4 separate regions of the Homo sapiens genome follow, and regions 1, 2 and 3 are each linked to region 4. Evidence: promoter capture Hi-C in 16 types of primary human blood cells and fetal thymus (Javierre and others, 2016). All regions are on one chromosome and are shown on one strand. Each heading gives the region's core, a stretch centred on a gene start or on the middle of the fragment in contact. The rest is flanking DNA. Distances are from core to core; before and after follow the strand shown. Region 1 has its middle 19 kb from the start of TSPAN9. Region 2 overlaps CACNA1C (calcium voltage-gated channel subunit alpha1 C). Region 3 overlaps TEAD4 (TEA domain transcription factor 4). Region 4 holds the start of FOXM1 (forkhead box M1).

Region 1 (3,042 bases), core at 422-2,921, 180 kb after region 4:
ACGGAAGGAGCCACATGCACAGGTGCTCACTTGTGAACAGCACCTACTTTCTGGGCTTCAGAGCGTGGTCCCCGGAAGAGTGCCAGTGCGTCATCTGGGAGCCCACTGCACGTGCAAACCTCACCCCACCCACTCCAGCCCTTCCCAGTCAAAATCCTCAGGGGGTTCCTGAAGTTTGAGAAACAACAGAGCTAGACTTTTTGACCAGGTACAGATTGATCACCCCAAAGCCATGGTCAATCCATGATAACTCCTCTCCCCCATGGAGATGGAGTAGGGATATGAGTGGGATACAGAGACTTCCTTCCATGGAAAGGTATGCATTTGAGCAGCATATTCATCACCGTTTGTAAAAATTAGTGACTTTTCTCTTTACAAACAAAACACCAATAAAAATGAATGAAAGAAAATTAAATTTGAAAGAGGTGCTTCCTTTTAATTTGACTTGTAATATTTTTAACTGTCAAAATTTCAACAAATAAATCTCTTTCTATACTTTTGTGTTAGTTTATAAGCTACTAAGTCATGGTCAGTTGAGTTTTTAATGCCTGAGGGAAGCTTTTATGCGTGGAGAGGAACAAATTTATTTGTGTATTTTACTTATGTTTCCAGTTTATTGAAGGTGTACATTTTATTGTTATTTTCATTTTTATTTGTTTTACTTTGTTTTGGGGGGACAGAGTCTCGCTCTGTCACCCAAACTGGAGCACAGTGGTATAATCATGGCTCATTGCAGCCTTCAACTCCTGGTCCCATGTGATGCTCCTGCCTCAGCCTCCCAAAATGGTGGGACCACAAGCATGAGCCACTGCACCCAAAGTTGTACATTTTCAAGACTAGTTTTGTTAAGTTCAACTCATACAATTTATTACTTTGCTCATAAATCTAGTATTTTTATGTTACTTTGCTCATAAATCTAGTATTTCTATCACTTGTTCTTTGATTAATGCCTGATTAGCTTATAAATTCTCTAAACATTAAATATTACTTATAAGCTTGATTAATTAAATTAGCTTAGGCTGTTTAAACTATATTAATATTAATATTCAAACATCTAACAAGGCAGATATACAAATCTAACAAAATCTTAGACACTAAGCATGTAGCACTAATAATTTAAACACTATTCACAAAACATAGCCTCAATTTATAGACCCAATTAGATTTATTTAAGCATTTAACCACCAAACTTAATCTACCTAAATACTAAACTAATATCACAAGTTTAATGTCACATGCTTTTACACTTTTCCAACACTTTAAAAAGCAGATTTTAAAATTCTATACTTTAAAGTCATTAGTGGTTAATTTTGTTACGTGAATTTTACCTCAACTAAAAGCAGATAAAACCCAAATCATCCCAGTGTTTGCAGTAGTTATTACCTAAAGCTATTAAAGTAGTTACTCCTTAAAGGTATTACAAGAGTATTAATGTACGTTCGTGTCCATCATCTTCTTTATATTTATTTTTAAGCCTCTATCCAAAGAAAGAAAGCAGAATTAGCCTCACAGTTGGGCTGAAATCAGTTGAAGATGTAGGTCTGAGGTACGGTTACAGATCGGGGTATGAGTTCCAGATTTGGAGCTGCCGTGCTGTTCCAGTATGGAGAGATGCTTGGAGCCTGGGCACTGGGTCTGGGAGTGGGGCCTGGATGTGCCTTCTACAGTCATTTCTCCCAGGCTGGCAATTATCAGTGTGGGTGGCTTCCTTTGGTCAAGTTTTTCCTGCCGAATTAACAAGATTCATAGAACTCTCACTGTTTTGTTTTGTTTTGTTTTTTGTTTTTAAATAACTCAGTGCATCTTTCATCCCTGAGTGTCCTTTAAATCTCATTACCTGATATAAATACATAAGTACAAGAAATTCGGGCTGGGAGCGGTGGCTCACGCCTGTAATCCCAGCACTTTGGGAGGCCAAGGCGGGCGGATCACGAGGTCAGGAGATCGAGACCATCCTGGCTAACACGGTGAAACCCCGTCTCTACTAAAAATACAAAAAATTATCCGGGCGTGGTGGCGGGCGCCTGTAGTCCCAGCTACTCGGGAGGCTGAGGCAGGAGAATGGCGTGAACCTGGGAGGCGGAGCTTGCAGTGAGCCGAGATCGCGCCACTGCACTCCAACTTGGGCGACAGAGCCAGACTCTGTCTCAAAAGAAAAAAAAAAAAGTACAAGAAATTCATAGCTTAATTATGAATCAAAACTTGGCTATGGTATGCACAGTGTTTTAAAAGTGGACACTTCAGAACAATTGGCTTTGGCAAAACAAAAACAACCAAAAACCAGTTGACATTTTCAGGAGCTCACATATACTTTTAGTATAACCCATATCCAGTACCATTATGGACTCAAGCTTTTCACTACATTTTTGTTTTCTTTTTGATAATCAGATGATCACAGTTTTGCCTTTTTTTCCTTTCTTTTCTTTTCTTTTTAGAGACAATGTCACTGCAGCCTTGAACACCTGGGCTCAAGGGATCCTTCCACTTCGGCTTCCCAAGTAGCTGGGACTACAGGTACGCGCCACCACACCCAGCTAATTTTTTTATTTTTTGTAGATGTGGGGTCTCGTTATGTTGTCCAGGCTGGTCTTGAATTCCTGGCCTCCAGTGACTCTCCTGCCTCAGCCTCCCAAAGAGTGGGGATCACAGGCATGAGCCACCGTGCCTGGCTGGCTTTGACTTTTTTTCTTTCTTTTTTTTTTTTTTTTTTTGAGACGGAGTCTTGCACTGTCGCCCAGGCTGGAGTGCAGTGGCGCCATCTCGGCTCACTGCAAGCTCTGCCTCCTGGGTTCACGCCATTCTCCTGCCTCAGCCTCCCGAGTAGCTGGGACTACAGGCGCCCGCCACCACACCCGGCTAATTTTTTTGTACTTTTAGTAGAGATGGGGTTTCACCGTGTTAGCCAGGATGGTTTCGATCTCCTGACCTCGTGATCCGCCCGCCTTGGCCTCCCAAAAGTGCTGGGATTACAGGTGTGAGCCACCGCACCCGGCCCAGCTTTGACTTTTTATGCTGCGTCCTTTTTCCTTTTAACACTACCTT
Region 2 (3,226 bases), core at 168-2,667, 190 kb before region 4:
GGGGGCCTCATCCTTCTCTGCAACCTCACTCCCCTTCCACGGCCTTTGAGGACCCAAGTACTGGGTCCCCATACCCCCTTCTCCCCTCTGGCCTCATGAAGCTTCTGCTTAAGGAGGGCTCCACGTCCGTCTTTAGCATCTCAGGGTGAACTAATTCCCCACCCTCTAAGGGCATTTTCATGTGAAGCTTTGTTCTCTGTGACATAAGGGGAGAGGGATGTTTAGAGGAGCTGGGGGAGGAGACCCCAGGGGATTTCCTTGTCCCCACAGATATATCTCTCCACATAGCAAAATACATGCAAAGCACCCGGCACAGTGCCCAGCACACAGTCGGTGCTCATGAAATGTCGGTTCCCTCTGCCCACTGCAGATGGTACAAACAACACACAGGGCATCAAGCTTCAGCTTGGTGAAGAGGAGGAGCATAGCCCACGTCCCAGCTCCCTTGTCCCCGTGTCACAGCTCAAGGCTAACGGCAGCTCTAGTGCCAGCATTGCTTGTGCTGAGGATGGGCCAGCACGTCCTGTGCCCGGTGGCCCCCAAAAGTGCTGCTGCCTGCCTGCTGCTGCTCTGCGTCTCCAGCTCCTCCCTCCGTGCTTCACCAAAGCCCACTCCACCTCCCTCCCCTCCCAGTCCTCCTGGAGCTCCCACCTCTCATCTTTCCTTCCACTGCGGGGCGGGTGGCAGTCTGCAGTCCTCCTCCTCGAGAGAGAGAATTGCTTCTACCCTGCCTGGGATGCTCAGAGCCAGGGCACTGATTTAGCACTCGGCTCTGAGAGGATGGACCAGGATCTTTCTCTGATGCCCTCAGGGGTCTGAGGATAAAGTGGGCCCAGCATGCAAGGTCTATAGAAAGCAAGACAAAGGGAGGCACTGAGCTGAGCTCAGACAGGAAAAGGAAGAGGCCTTGGTCCAGAGCTAAAGATGACCTGACCCTGTCCCAGCAGGGAAAGGCACGTTCCGATGTGTGAGGATCTGGAGCTCAGGAGGGATTCAGGCTCAGCAGGGACTCAGGCTCACTGCCTTCTGCTCAGGAGAGCAAACCCCTCTAGGTGAGGCTTCCTCTCTGTGCCTTTACCCCAGGGTGCCAGTGTCAGAATCAAGGGCACCATCAAAATAAGAGGCCAAGGACTTCTCAGCTATGCCAAATGCCAAAGACCCAGGTGTCATAGCTGGAGGTGAGTGGGGGGCAGCCTCTAAGTTAGGCAGGGCATATGTCATTCCAATTTCATAGGGAAACTGAGGCATGAGGTGGACCAAGTGACTTGGACCAGAGGGTAAGTGGATTGGGGTCAGGACTCCTGGATCCACAGCAGACATCCTTCTCCCAAATGGGACCCTCACCCTAATCTGAACACTTCTATGGATCCATCAGCAATCACAGGAGAACAAAGCACCAGCAACTGTATGCCTGTTCACGTGTGTGTGCTTGTGTTTGTGCACGTGTGTACACCTGCATGTGTGTGCGTGTGTGATGCTTTACTTGCTGAAGGAAGTGGAGGAAGGTTGGCAGTTTCTGATGTTTTTCTTCATCTTGGATATTGTAGGTGCCACTCCCGGGAGAGCCAGGCAGCCATGGCGGGTCAGGAGGAGACGTCTCAGGATGAGACCTATGAAGTGAAGATGAACCATGACACGGAGGCCTGCAGTGAGCCCAGCCTGCTCTCCACAGAGATGTGAGCTCTGCTGCCCTCTGCTGAGGCTGACCCAAGTGTGGGAACAAATGTGGGGAGGCAGAGGCAGGTCCCTGAGATCCCTCCTCTGGGGCTGATTGCAGGAGGAGAGGAGATCACAGAGAAAACATCTGCACCGCCTCTTTCATCTCCTCAGTGAAATGGGAGCCCCCCAACACACAACACACACAAACACACACACACCACACACACACACAGACACACACAACACACACATACACGATGCCCTTTTTAGCTTGGGGTTTCCTCGCCAGGAAAATTTCTGAACATTGTTTTATAAACATTGTAGGCTGTAAGACACAGTCATAAATATATTTTCTGGTGAGACTCAGTATGCACATACATATATAGATAATTAAACAAGTGTTTCAAGACACTGCTTATAATGAAGCTGCCCAGAAGAGGGCACTGGTGGCAAAGCCAGGCCTGAGATTTTTGTCCTTGCTGCCATTCTTAGAGTATTTTTAGCTGCAGTTCTAGATCCTTTAGAAGGTGGTGACATCCATTTGGTCACTAATGACTAGCCCTTAAAAGCAGGTGCAGCACAGCACAATATCAGAAACTATCAGAATGCGTCAAACGTCACAAAGGTAAGCGCTGTGCTGGGAAACACTTGCTTAATTGCCAACAGATGTGGCTATCTGGGGGTCTCCTTGAGAAACATCTTTATGACTCTGAGTCACATCCACAGAAGTTTGAGACACAGAGTGACATCCACAGAAGTTTGAGACACAGTGTTTCCGAAGCTTTTCTGGCTCTTTTCACCCTCAAAGCCCTGTCTCATCTGTTACTGTATACATGACTCACAACAGGCCTCTGAGACAGAGAGGGCATATGTCATTTCAATTTTGTAGAAAGGGAAATTGAGGCATGGGGTTTTCCCCAGGGGGTAATGCCTGGGTCCCATGGGCTTGCGTGCAGCCACTTGAAAATGGGCCCTCTGGAGGGACAGGCAGGCCAGCGGCAGGTGTGCCTGCTCCTTGGATGGACACTTTTCCAGGGGTTTAGAGAGAAGCTCCCACTTCTCTATTATTTTCTGAGCTGGAGGGCAGGCATGTCAAGAACCTGGGATGCTGGGGGGCTGTGCCACCTGCTGGGAGCCACTGTCCCACTCTGGAACGGCAGCACAGTGAAGCGTGGCCAGGCACGATGCAGGGTGTGTCCTCTCTCAGCCCCGCCAGGGAACCCTGGAGCTGCCGATGCAGACAGGGAGGAGCCCCACGGGGGCCCAGGGCGGGAGGGAAGCCCTCACCGACCCCTCCCAGCATGTCAGTCCATTCAGTTCCTGAAAGGACTTCAGAGTGAGGAAGGACTAGCCTTGCAGGCTTTTGAAGACAGGAAAGGTGTGGCTGGAGGTGGTGGGAGGGGACACCAGGTGCCCCACCCTGAGGAGTGTGGGGAGAATGGCAGCCAGGCCAGCACAGCATGCGGCTTCCTGGGGTCCAGTGCTTTCTGCTCGGGAACTGGATGGGAAGAGTAGCAGAAGCACCTCCTTTTCCCCAGCATAGAAAGAAGAATCGAGTGAGTAAGGA
Region 3 (3,167 bases), core at 532-3,031, 150 kb after region 4:
GAGTTTGAGACCAGCCTGGGCACATGACAAAAACCTGTCTCCACAAAAATAATACAAAAATTAGTCAGGCGTGATGGCATGTGCCAGTAACCCCTACACTTTGGGAGGACGAGGCGGGTGGATTGCTTGAGTCCATGAGTTGGGGACCAGCTTGGCCAACATGGCAAAACCCCATCTCTCCTAAAAATACCAAAATTAGCCAGGCATGGTGGTGCGTGCCTGTAATCCAAGCTACTCAGGTGGCTGAGATGGGAAGATCGCTTGAGCCTGGGAGGCAGAGGTTGTAGTAAGCTGAGATCACACCACTGCACTGCAGCCTGGGTGACAGAGCAAGATCCCATCTCAAAAAATAAAGTATACAATTCCGAGTTTTTAAGTATATTCACAAAGTTGTGCAACCATCACCACAATCAATTTTAGAACATTTTCATCATCCCGAAAATAAGCCCTGTTCCCTTTAGCTGTCACTCCCCACTCCTACCCCCCAGCCCTGTGCAATAATCTACTTTCTGTCTTTGAAGCTTTGCCTATTCTGGACATTTTGTATAAAAGGGTTTGTGGAGGATGTGGTCTTTTGTGACTGGCTTCTTGAACTTGGCATAGTGTTTTCAAGGTTCAACCATGTTGTAGCACGTACGTTCCTTTTTATGGCCAAATGTACGGAGAGTCCACATTGTTTATCCATTCATCAGTTCATGGGCATTTGGGTTGTCTCCTCTTGGCTGTTAGGAGTAGTGCTACTGTGAACATTACGTACCAGTGTTTGTGTGGACGTTCATTTTCATTTCCATATGCTTATGTCTGGAATTACTGGGTCATATGGCAACTCTCTTTCACTTTCTGAGGCACTCCCAAGAGTCTTCCGAAGTGGCTGCACCGTTTTCTGTTCCCACCTGCAGGGTATGAGGGTATGAGGATCCTATTTTCTCCACATCCTCACCAACACTTGATATTCTCTGATTGTAGCCATCCTAGCAAATGTGAAGTGGTATCTCATTGTGGTTTTTATCTGCATTTCCCTGATGACTGATGATGGTAAGCATCTTTTCATGTGCTTACTGGCCATTCGTATATCTTCTTTGTAGAAATGCCAATTCAGAAATTTAGGTCCATTGCCCTTTTTTTTTTGAGACAGTCTTTCTCTGTCACCTAGGCTGGAGTACAGCGGCGTAATTTTGGCTCACTGCAACCTCTGCCTCCCAGGTTCAACTGATTCTCGTACCTCAGCCTTCTGAGTAGCTGGAATTACAGGCACGCACCACCATGCCCAGCTCATTTTTGTATTTTTGGTAAAGGCGGGGTTTTACCATGTTGTCCAGGCTGGTCTTGAACTCCTGAGCTCAAGCGATTCGCCTGCCTCAACCTCCCAAAGTGCTGGGATTACACGTGTGAGCCGCTGTCCCCAACCCCATTGCCCATTTTTATAATAAATTGGGTTATTTTTTATTATTGAATTATGAGTTCTTAGTTCTGGATGAAAGTTCCTTATCAGTTATATGATTTGTAATTATTATTTCCCATTCTGTTGAATGTCTTTTCACATTCTTTTTTCTTTTTTTCTTCAGAGACAGGGTCTTGCTGTGTCTTCCAGGCTGGAGTGCACTGGCATGATTATTGCTCACTGCAACCTTGAACTTGGGCTCAAGTGATCCTCCCGCCTCAACTTCTTGAGTAGCTGGGACTAGAGGCATGCACTACTACGCCTGGCCAATTTTTTTTTTTTTTTTTTTTTTGAGATGAAGTCTCACTCTGTCACCCAGGCCGGAGTGCAGTGGCATGATCTCGGCTCACTGCAAGCTCCGCCTCCCGGGTTCACGCCATTCTTGTGCCTCAGCCTCCCAGGTAGCTGGGACTTCAGGCGCCCGCCACCACGCCCAGCTAATTTTTTTGTATTTTTAGTAGAGACGGGGTTTCACTGTGTTAGCCAGGATGGTCTCGATCTCCTGACCTCGTGATCCACCAGCCTCGGCCTCCCAAAGTGCTGGGATTACAGGCGTGAGCCACCGCGCCCGGCCCAAGTTTTTATTTTTATTTAAATTTTTTATAGAGGGTGTCACTATGTTGCCCAGGCTGGTCTTGAACTCCTGGCCTCAAGTGATCCTCCTGCCTCAGCCTTCCAAAGTGCTGGGATTACAGGTGTGAGCCACTGTGCCTGGCCCCTTTTCACATTCCTAGTAGTGTCCTTTGATGCACAAACGTTTCTAGTGTTGATGATGTCCAGTTTATCAAGTTTTCCTTTTGTTATTTGTTCTGGTTATATTTAGTAGTGACTGGGAGCTCTTCGTGCAAGGTAGGACTTGTCACCTGGTGGGTTTCGCTTTAGGGTGATTGGGCTTGGGGAGCTAGCTGTTTTATTGGGGAAATCAATAAATATGTGTGTTTACTGGACTTTTTTTTCCCCCTGAGGTGATTTAGTTTCTCCAGAGACGATTCATCTAATTTCCCTGGAAGGGACATACTTGGTCACAAGTGTTCTGGTAGTGGGATAAAGGGTCGGGGGTAGGGGCCCTGACCATTTCTGATGCTGGCTTTCACTTAACTCTCCTGTTCTTACTCCCCCTCTTCCCTCTCTTTTGAATAAGCCCTGTGTCCCTGAGACCTGTTGCCCTCCTGTTTAATTTCTGAAGATGGTCACCCTTTGGTCCTCTTTAAAAAGTTTTTTTGTTTGTTGGTGTGTTTTTTAATTTTTAATTTCATAGAGACAGGGTCTTGCTATGTTGCCCAGACTGGTTTTAAACTCCTGGGCTTAAGCCATTCTCCTGCCTCAGCCTCCCAAAGTAATGGGATTACGGGCAGGAGCCACCATACCCGGCTGACCCTTTGATCTTCTACCGATGCATGGGAGGGGTGGGCCTGGGGGCTGGACTGTCCAGTGTACAGACTTTTTGTCAGTTCCTGGGGACAAATCCTGTTCCCTCCAGCTCCGAGCCACGCAGCTCAGCTTCTTATCTGTCACCCCTGAAGATATTGGTAGGTTGTGACTCTTTTTGCTTTCTCTACCCCGTGGAATCCAGTGTGGTCCTAATCAGCTTTGAGTCTCCAAAGCTTGCCCAGCTCTCTTGTCAGCTGGTCTCTTTGTTTTCTTTATCTTTGTGGTGCTGCATATTGTTTAAAGTTACTTGCTGTTGTCCTTCTAGCTGGGTCTCTGGAAGGGGAAAAAATAAACT
Region 4 (3,232 bases), core at 60-2,559:
ATTCTCCTGCCTCAGCCTCCCGAGTAGCTGCAATTACAGGCATGCACCACCATGCCCAGCTAATTTTTTTTTTTTTTTTTTAGTAGAAACAGGGTTTCACCATGTTTGCCAGGCTGGTCTTGAACTCCTCAGGTGATCCACCCGCCTCGGCCTCCCAAAGTGCTGGGATTACAGGCGTGAGCCACTGCGCCCGGCCTTTTGTTGATTTTAATAGATACATGGAATATTCTACCATTAAGCAAAATTGTGTAATTCTATTTCACGGAACTTTGGAAGACAGAGGAATTGGCTGTCTCTTTTTTAGGACACTTATTCTCTCCCTGAAAAGCAACTGCACTTTTTTGACATTTGTCATCTGCATAGAGTTCACAGGCCCTCCACACCTCTACCTTCAAATCTCAGTTTTACTTTCACCTCCGATCTTTCCAGGCTTCCCTCTCTCCCCGCATCAATCAGTAGATATTATTCCTCTTTTTCCACAGGATATCTAAGTCTTAATTTTCTCTTCTACTTCCTGACCAGCCCGTTATTATTATTGCCAACACTTTCTTGCCCGGGAAACTTCCAGAGTGGCTCCTCCGACCCATCCCCATCCTGAGCGGGGAAATCTTGCTACATTCTCAAGAACCAGGAAAAGGGCCCTGCAAAAGGGTAAGTAAGATGGAGGCGGTGTTGCCTAGTGGTGAGACAGCCTGGGAGCAGGGGAGTGTGTATGCAGGTTGGTCTTTGACTCAATGTAGTACAATCTCAGTCTTCATCTCAGCCACAGTCGGCCTAAGAAGGTAGGCCACCCCAGCCCTCCCGAGGCCGCGGGCAGGGTGCGGAGGTCAGACTTCCAGGGAAGGCCAAGGGGCGCTTTAAGCAGTGAGAAGGCCACGGCCAGGAGGTGGACGCAGAAAAAACTTGCACCCTGGCTCAGATTCTTCCCGTGTGACCCAAATCTCCACTCGTGGCCCGTGCCCTGCTGCTAGACGCCCTGACCTCCGCGCCCGGAGGCCTTGCTCCCCGCCTGTGCCCAGGCCAGGCCTGGGACTCCATTGCTGCATCCCGCTCACCTCCAGACTGCAGTCGCCGCCGCCGTTAGGCCGTAGCTCCGAAGGCGGGCTCCGGGCTCCTCCAACCTGGGGGCCGAGCCAGGGCCCCGGACGGGGGCTCGCGCCGGACCGGCCGGGTCCCCGGCGGTGCGGGCGGGGTGGGAACCCCGGGGGATCCCGGGAGGGGAGGGGGTCCCGGGCCGGGGCCGGGGGTGGGGTCTGGCACCGGAGCTTTCAGTTTGTTCCGCTGTTTGAAATTGGCGCCGGCGGAGCGTTAAGGTCACGTGACGGAACGTCGCCAATCGGCGCCGGCCTTGTCTCGGCATTCCGGGCTCGAAGGCTGTGCGGTCTGCCAGGAGCTGCGGCCCCGTCCGGCCCGGGCTGGTAAGGCGGACCGCAGGCCGGCTTGTGGGGGAAGAAGTGGCCGTGGGGCCGGGGAGGGGCCGGAGGGGTCCCCGCCGCGTGGGTGGGCGAGCCGAGGGAGAGTTTGGGGACGCGCGGAAGCGGCGTGACAGGCCCGGGTCCCTGGGCCCGCTTTTCCTGCCGCGCTGGTCACGCCAGGCGACACGCCCCCGCTTCCCCTCAGGCTCCTCTGCTCCCCTTTTCAAAGCTCGGCTTTAGTTGATTTCCTCACTGGGGGAAATCGTACCCCATTTTCCCACAGTGAACGATCGTCTGCTCCCCCCGATTAGACTAAGTTCCTTTGAGGGCTGCGTATTATCTCCGCTTTCTTCCATCTTGAAAAAAAATGTCGGCACCATGAACCCTACCTCAGCGCGAAACCTGTCTTTTGCCCCTCCCGAAGCCAAGCCTTCGGATATAATAGACCGTAGTGCTTTATTTATTGACTTAGTCAACCAGTCTAGTTGAGCAACTGCTGTGCGCCAGGCACCGCTAGGCCCTGAAGATACAATGGCAGACAAGGTTCTTTCCTTCCCCTGGGCTCACAGCCCAATCCTGGAAGAGGGGCACAGACATTTTAATCAAATAAACAAATGTGGGCTGGGCATAGTGGCTCACGCCTGTAATCCCAGCACTTTAGGAGGCCGAGGCGGGTGGATCACTTGAGGTCACGAGTTCGAGACCAGCCTGGCAACATAGCGAAACCGCTTCTCTACTAAAAATTAGCCGGGCGTGGTGGTGCGTGCCTGTAGTCCCAGCTACTCTGGAGGCTGAGGTGGAAGGATCACCTGAGGCCGAGAGGTGGAGGCTATGGTAAGCCATGATCACACCACTGCACTCCAGCCTGGGCGACAGAGGGAGACACCGTCTCCAAAACAAACAAATGTTGAATTATTGCTGTAAATTGAAACATTAGAGGTTAATGATACTTTGAGTATTTACAATAACGAGATCTTGAGAGGTAGGACAGGAAAGGCTTTTGTAATGAGAGCTTGGTGTGAGATCTGATGCCTTTTACAAAGAAAGGAGGGAACTCCTCTAAGCAGAGGGAATCAGGCGTGCAAAGGCTGGATGGCAGGAGGAAGCACAGTGAGTACAAAGGCTGAGAAATATCTGAGGGGTTTGAGCTAATCGACCTGAATGGAGTGTGGTGTGAGTTGAAGCTGGAGCCGGAGGAAGCAGAGCCTTAGCCATACCGAGAAGTTTTGTGCTTATCCAAGAATTAAAGGAAACCAGTCATAAGCTTTAAGCAGAAGTGAATCCAGGTCAGATTTGCATTTTAAAAGGTCCCTCTATAGCGGGGATTGCTAGAGTGGATTAGGGCAGAACAGTTGGATGTTGCAATACTCCAGGCAAGAACTGCTGGAGCTTGAAAAAGGGTGGCAGGGAGAGAGAGAGAGGAAGAGAAAGAAGGAGACAGAGAGAGTAAAAAAGGGGCATTAAGAAAACATGTTTAAGAGGTAAAGTTGACAGGGCTTGATGGTGGGTTGGATGGGAGGTAGAAGTGTCAAGATTTTCAGCTGCATAACTGAAGGAATAATGACACTATTCCCTGACCAAGGGCCCTGGAAGATAATCACTTTGGCCAAGGGACGGGCGGGGGGTTGTCAGGGGAATGATCGTGAATTCAGTTTTTGTTTTTTTACTACAAAGCAATGCTCAGAATGAGTTTTTTTTTTAATTATATATTTATTTTTATTTATCTTTTTATTTTTTAGAGACAGGGTCTTGCTCTGTCCCCCAGGCTGAAGTCCAGTGGCATGACCTTGGCTCACTACAACCTCAACCTCCTGGGC

Evidence for each region. Contacts are between HindIII fragments. The CHiCAGO score rates a contact against its expected background, and 5 or more counts as called.
Region 1: a contact is called between a fragment that was not itself captured here and the fragment with the promoter of FOXM1 in region 4, in 2 of 17 cell types (endothelial precursors and megakaryocytes). The highest score is 9.8, in endothelial precursors.
Region 2: a fragment that was not itself captured here is called in contact with the fragment with the promoter of FOXM1 in region 4 in 1 of 17 cell types (fetal thymus); the score reaches 5.0 in fetal thymus.
Region 3: a contact is called between a fragment that was not itself captured here and the fragment with the promoter of FOXM1 in region 4, in 2 of 17 cell types (endothelial precursors and megakaryocytes). The highest score is 8.2, in endothelial precursors.

Annotation. Positions count from the first base shown.
Region 1 is chr12:3,056,542-3,059,583 of GRCh38, forward strand. No RefSeq gene overlaps it. Among named protein-coding and RNA genes, the nearest start is that of TSPAN9, 19 kb to the right of the region's middle. The HindIII fragment of the contact is 1,356 bases long and covers 994-2,349 here.
Region 2 is chr12:2,681,003-2,684,228 of GRCh38, forward strand. It overlaps CACNA1C (calcium voltage-gated channel subunit alpha1 C), which reads left to right. Exons shown (of 47, transcript NM_000719.7): 43 at 1,548-1,676. The region is part of intron 3 of CACNA1C-AS1 (CACNA1C antisense RNA 1); the gene reads right to left. Among named protein-coding and RNA genes, the nearest start is that of CACNA1C-AS1, 8.5 kb to the right of the region's middle. The HindIII fragment of the contact is 2,041 bases long and covers 398-2,438 here.
Region 3 is chr12:3,027,523-3,030,689 of GRCh38, forward strand. The region is part of intron 10 of TEAD4 (TEA domain transcription factor 4); the gene reads left to right. Among named protein-coding and RNA genes, the nearest start is that of TSPAN9, 48 kb to the right of the region's middle. The HindIII fragment of the contact is 2,524 bases long and covers 520-3,043 here.
Region 4 is chr12:2,875,865-2,879,096 of GRCh38, forward strand. FOXM1 (forkhead box M1) reads right to left here and starts at 1,310. Exons shown (of 9, transcript NM_021953.4): 1 at 1,056-1,310. It overlaps RHNO1 (RAD9-HUS1-RAD1 interacting nuclear orphan 1), which reads left to right and starts at 1,359. Exons shown (of 3, transcript NM_001252499.3): 1 at 1,359-1,418. RefSeq lists silencers at 1,066-1,135, 1,176-1,615 and an enhancer at 3,199-3,232. The HindIII fragment of the contact is 3,757 bases long and covers 1-2,677 here.